Regions from separate parts of the Homo sapiens genome. Here region 2 is linked to region 1. The links are contacts of gene promoters, found by promoter capture Hi-C in blood cells and fetal thymus (Javierre and others, 2016). All regions are on one chromosome and are shown on one strand. Each heading gives the region's core, a stretch centred on a gene start or on the middle of the fragment in contact. The rest is flanking DNA. Distances are from core to core; before and after follow the strand shown. Region 1 holds the start of MALT1 (MALT1 paracaspase). Region 2 has its middle 57 kb from the start of SEC11C.

What was found. Contacts are between HindIII fragments. The CHiCAGO score rates a contact against its expected background, and 5 or more counts as called.
Region 2: a fragment that was not itself captured here is called in contact with the fragment with the promoter of MALT1 in region 1 in 2 of 17 cell types (total CD4 T cells and naive B cells); the score reaches 7.2 in total CD4 T cells.

What each region holds. Positions count from the first base shown.
Region 1 is chr18:58,670,212-58,673,190 of GRCh38, forward strand. It overlaps MALT1 (MALT1 paracaspase), which reads left to right and starts at 1,254. Exons shown (of 17, transcript NM_006785.4): 1 at 1,254-1,641. The coding sequence starts at 1,433. MALT1-AS1 (MALT1 antisense RNA 1) reads right to left here and starts at 1,662. Exons shown (of 2, transcript NR_164150.1): 1 at 1,258-1,662; 2 at 1-597. It overlaps LOC105372146 (a long non-coding RNA gene), which reads right to left. Exons shown (of 4, transcript XR_935537.3): 4 at 2,402-2,648. RefSeq lists an enhancer at 573-832 and a silencer at 993-1,782. The HindIII fragment of the contact is 13,202 bases long and covers 1-2,979 here.
Region 2 is chr18:59,081,691-59,084,491 of GRCh38, forward strand. No RefSeq gene overlaps it. Among named protein-coding and RNA genes, the nearest start is that of SEC11C, 57 kb to the right of the region's middle. The HindIII fragment of the contact is 2,402 bases long and covers 239-2,640 here.

The sequences.
Region 1 (2,979 bases), core at 4-2,503:
GTTACCGAGTTAAGTGCTTCACATACATCAACTCCTTTAATTCTGGCAACAACTCTATATAAACTGTATTGTCAGTCCTGTGTTAATAGATGAGGCAGAGAAATTAAGAAACTTATTCAAGCTCCTAACACTTGAATCGAGCAGATCTTTCATGCTCTTAGCCATCTCACTGCAGTCTGAATTCTTAACTTATGCTAGAGTGAAGTTTAATGACTGCTTGTGCTAGAATGTGGTGGAGACTGTATGGCGCACCTACCTCGCCAACATGTATAAGAATATAGGTATCCAAATTACTGGTCAGAAAATCCTGCGGCCTTGGGTGATGAAAAGCTAATGGCAACAGAAATTGGGCCAGGAAGCCTCGTGTAGGGAACTACCTGACTGGTCACATTTCGTAAGTTACTTCCTTTTTGTCCCAAACGAAGCCATAGTTTTCAAAGGGATAATGGCCTTGGATGTTGCTAAGATTGGCAGAGAGAGCTCAGGTGTCGTCCATTCCGGATCATTCCAGGGAAAGGCATCCTCTACAGGGTTGCCTGCTTTGATGACGGAGATTGCGGGCGGCAGTCTGACGCGGTGTAAACCAGATGATTCCTGCTAAAAACAATCATTTCCAAGATCTGATTAGCCCTAAATATGCCACAGCTCAGTTTGCAAAGTAGTAATTGTTTAAAAGTCTAGGCAAAGATTTTGGCCAATTCCAACTCAAGTATCCGGATCTCCAGCACTACTTCCCTCTAGCAATGCCATACACATCTAACCCTAAAACGAGGAAGCGTCCGCTGAGGTTGCCCACTGCAGGATGCTGGTGTGTCGCCGGGCACATGAAAGTCCCTGAGTCAGGGGAGAGCGCTCGCCGGGGACTGCGGGCGGGAGCCGGCGACTGAGAACCGCTTGCCCCGCTCTCTGGCGTGAGTACGCAGGCCTCCTCCCACGGTCTCAGGAAGCCCAGACGCCGCAGGCTTCCCCGCCGTAGAGGAGCTGCCGGGGCGTAATTCCTCCACCGCTTCCTCCTCCAGCTGCACCCACCCGTCCTTTCCTGCTCGGGAGGGCTGGGTTTGAAGCGCGCGCCACGGCCAGCCCGGGACCGCGGGGGAGGGCGAGGGAGGCGCGCAGCCGCACGCACGCAGTAGGCAGCCCCGCCCCGCCCCTCGAGGCCCAAGGTCCCGCCCCTCGAGGCTCCGTGCCCCGCCCCCCGGGTGCCCCGCCCCTTTGCGCGGCTGGCGCGGCCAGCAGGCCAGGCTCCCCTCGGCAAACCTGTCTAATTGGGGCGGGGAGCGGAGCTTCCTCCTCTGAGGGCCGTGCCGCGCTGCCAGATTTGTTCTTCCGCCCCTGCCTCCGCGGCTCGGAGGCGAGCGGAAGGTGCCCCGGGGCCGAGGCCCGTGACGGGGCGGGCGGGAGCCCCGGCAGTCCGGGGTCGCCGGCGAGGGCCATGTCGCTGTTGGGGGACCCGCTACAGGCCCTGCCGCCCTCGGCCGCCCCCACGGGGCCGCTGCTCGCCCCTCCGGCCGGCGCGACCCTCAACCGCCTGCGGGAGCCGCTGCTGCGGAGGCTCAGCGAGCTCCTGGATCAGGCGCCCGAGGGCCGGGGCTGGAGGAGACTGGCGGAGCTGGCGGGGAGTCGCGGGCGCCTCCGCCTCAGGTGAGCTCAGGGCCGCGGCAGGCCGGGCGCGCGGGTCGAGCGGGGTGGGCTGCGGTGGGGAGGTGGGGGCGCTGTCGGTGGGGCTGAGCGCGGCGGGGGCCGCCGGCGTGAGTGAGCGGAGGTGGGGAGGACTTCGGTCATTGAGGCGGAGCGGAACTCAGCAGCTCCCCGGAACGCCTGGGGTTTGAGAGCGGGGCCCAGGGCTCTGGAGGGTGGAGGCAAAAGTGGCCCAGCGGCTGCCTCGCTCCCTGTTCCCACCCCCGCCCCTGGTGAAAGGGAGAAGTCGAGGTTGACCCCGGAGGATAGTGAGAGAAGGAAAGCTGTCAGGGGACCCCTAGGATGGGGCAGTCATCCAGAGGACTTAAAATGCAAAAGAAAGGGATGTGGACACTGCTCTGGGAGACCTAAGGAAGGCTGGGAAGAAGCGCAGGCGAGGTGATGAATGCAGAGGGTGGGGTGCAGGAATTCATGAACATTTTGCAAGGTATTGGGAAAGACTGACGCCGAACTCATCATCTCCCTCCATCAAACCAGGTTACCACGTTCTCTTCTTGACTTCACCATGAACATGAAACTCGAAGTAAAACTATTTTCCTTGTTAGGTTTGGAATGGCTGTATTAGGGTTCCTGAAGTTTTGGTCTCGAGACTCCTTTACCCTCTTAAGAATTATTGAGGACCCCAGAGAGCTCTTATGTGGGTTAGAGATAATACATACATGTAATACATACTGATATTTACCACCTTTGAAATTAAAGCTAAGACATTTAAAAAATATTAATTTATTTAAAAAGAATAACCCATTATATGGTAACAGAAATAATACTTTCGTGGAAAAACAAATTTTCCAAAACAAAAAAGTCTATTAGAGAAGTGGCATTGGTTTTCATTTTGAAGATCTCTTTAATGTCTTGGCTTAATCACAGAGCTGGATTCGTTTATGTGCTTCTGCATTCAGTCTGTCGCACTATTACAGGTCACAGAACGCTGGAAACTGCAGTGTCCACTCCTGAAAGAATGAATGAAAAAGCTAAATAAAGTCTTAATATTGTTATGAAAAATCTTTATGACCTTGTGGACCCCGCGAAAGGGTCTCAGGAACTGCACTAGGGGTTCCCAGACCCCACTTAGAACCATTACTTTATACCATTGTTGTAACTTTGGCCTGCCTTTGAACCCCTTAGCAGTTTTTTGAACTTCTCAAATGACAAAGATTTGTCTTACAGTATAATTATTTGTACACATCTTTATAAATGCCTTAAGAACAAAAACTGTCTCTTAATATTCTGTTATGTATAGAGGTTAGTAAATACTTGATGAGAGGAAAGTCATTCATTCAA
Region 2 (2,801 bases), core at 190-2,689, 410 kb after region 1:
GGGGTTAGAGTTTCTACGTGCTTTTCTGGAACACAATTTAGAGTATCTGATAACAGTGCCCTAGCTGCAAATGGGTTTTTAAAAAATGTAACATTTAGCTTTCTGGTTTCTACAGTACAGCAGTGAGAAGCCGGGGGGATCTGTTTCAGGCCAGTCCCTTTATGGAACCCACAGCTGCTGCAAGGACCAGCCTATTAGAATCTTCGGACACAGACTCTGCAGTGGCACCAGGGAAACAAGCTTGCCTAGCATCACACAGCAGCATATGTTCAGCTGGGGCCACCGCCCCTTTTGGCTCAGCACAGGTGCAACGCAAAGGAGCTTTGCTTTTCCTGGGCTCAGGGAAAGTTGAAGGCAACCTGAGAATAGGTGCTTCCTGGGGAACGGTGTTGAACCTAACCCCCTTCCTCCACTCTTTAAAATCAGGTAACTAGTGAACTGGCACCCACCCCGAATCTCTCCTCATGTTACATCGGGGCCCAGGATACGTGTGCAAACTGAGCTTCGGAGTCACCCCACAATCCCATGGTTCCTCTACGTCAGCGATTCTGAAACTATTTGGACTCGAGATTTCTTTATATCTTCAACATTATCTGGGACCCGAAGAGCCTTTGTTTATTATGTGGAATATATCTATTGATATTTACTATACTAGAAATTAGAAATGGAAAAAATGGGATAATATTTATAAATTCCTTTAAATATAATAAATTATACATTTCATGCTAACATATTTTTATGGAAAATACCAGTTATTAATTTTGAGACAGAGTCTTGCTCTGTTGCCCAGGCTGGAGTGCAGTGGTGCAATCTTGGCTCACTACAACCTCCATCTCCTGGGTTCAAGCGATTCTCATGTCTCAGCCTCCCGAGTAGCTGGGATTACAGGCACATGCCACCATGCCCAGCTAATTTTTATATATATATATTTTTTGAGACAGAGTCTCCCTCTATTGCCCAGGCTGGAGTGCAGTGGAGCAATCTCGGCTCACTGCAACCTCCACCTCCTGGGTTCAAGCAATTCTCCTGCTTCAGCCTCCCAAGTAGCTGGGATTACAGTCACGTGCCACCACACCTGGCTAGTTTTTGTATTTTTAGTAGAGACGGGGCTTCGCCATATTGGTCAGGCTGGTCTCAAACTCCTGACCTTGTGATCTGCCCACCTTGGCCTCCTAAAGTGCTGGGATTACAGGTGTGAGCCACCACACCCGGCTAATTTTTATATTTTTAGTGGAGACAGGGTTTTGCCATGTTGGCCAGGTTGGTCTTGAACTCCTGATCTCAGGTGATCAGCCCGCCTCAGCCTCCCAAAAGTGCTGGGATTACAGGTATGACCCACTGCGCCTGGCCTCTTTTTTATTTTTTTTTTAAGCTCAGGGTAGGGCATATATTTTCAAAACAAAAAATGCTAGCGAGAAGACTGTCATTGTGCTACAGTTTCAGAAATCTCTTTAATAGCTGGCTAAATAGAAGACATAGCTGATCTTACATCCGCCACTGCTGTCAGTCTGTTGCAGTATCACATATCATGTAGCTTCTGGAAAACTCCAGCATACACTCACTCATAAAGGAATGAGAAGGGAAAAAAGCAAGCATCTTGGTTTTATTCTGAAAATAGTGTAGACCTTATGGATTCCCTGGAAGTCTTTCAGGAACTCCTGGAGGGTACCCAGATCACACTTTGAGAATCGCCGCTCTAAGCCAATATGCAGATTAATGGAATGAATAACCGTGGTGTATTTCCCACCTAAAAGACAGGCTCTGTGCTGAAGACCGACACTGACAGCTTTCGGCCAGGAACTTATCTTTCCCAGCAACAAAGAACAGGGTAAGATACACATGAAAGTTTTAGGGGATCATGAAAAGAAGGAAAAAAAATTCAGAGACAAGACAATTGGAATACCCTTGACTGAGACTCAAAAAGAAAAATGAAACTTTTAGTACATCATATTGAAAATCCCATGGATTCAAAAAGAAGGCAGCATGTATGTAAGCCAAAGTGACGGCATAAGGAGTTCTTTGTTAGAAAACAGGGAAAGAGAAGCAAGAGAGCAGGCAGGCAGAAGGGCAGCCAGGACCATCAGCTCGGGTGCGTGAAATGAGCACGGGGAAAGAAAGGGGTTTCTTTTCTGTTTTGTTTTAAGTAGAATCGTAATTGGGATGGGAAGGGACTTTAGAGATAATCTATTCAAGGACATCATTTTGTAGTGAGGCAACTGTGTTGTCTCCTGCCCGAGTTCACCCACCTGCTCTTCCTACCAGACCACGTGGGCAGTGCACTGGAACAAAATCTCTCTATCAGATTATCTCTCCTCTGTTTGTCTCCCTCTCCACCTCTGTGTTCATATGCATAACACACACACACACACACACACACACACACACACACACACACACACACACACACGTTTTCTTTCCAAATTTCCTCTTAACAAAGTCTAAAGAATAATCACTGTTTCTTGCCTCTATGATTTTTTTTGACCTCCTCTGAACCCCACACATTGACGAAGTGCCAGCCATAGCAATAGTTTCAGACCCGTGGAGTCAGCTGTGCTGTTGCCAACCTCCATCACCTGTCCGCCTTTATCCTGGGCTCTGTTCCTGTGGATTTGAACAAATAGATGAGCGGCATCGGAAGAAAGCTTTAGCTGCATGTGTTTGGGTGACCACGAGAGGGCAGCACGTAAGAGACCAGTGTCGGCCCCGCTGCCTTCTTGAACACACCGGAAGCCTCCTAGGAAAACTGCAGATTTTGTCAGACTGTGAAGTAGAAGAGTCAAAGAGCCTTCATTGCTTCCTTT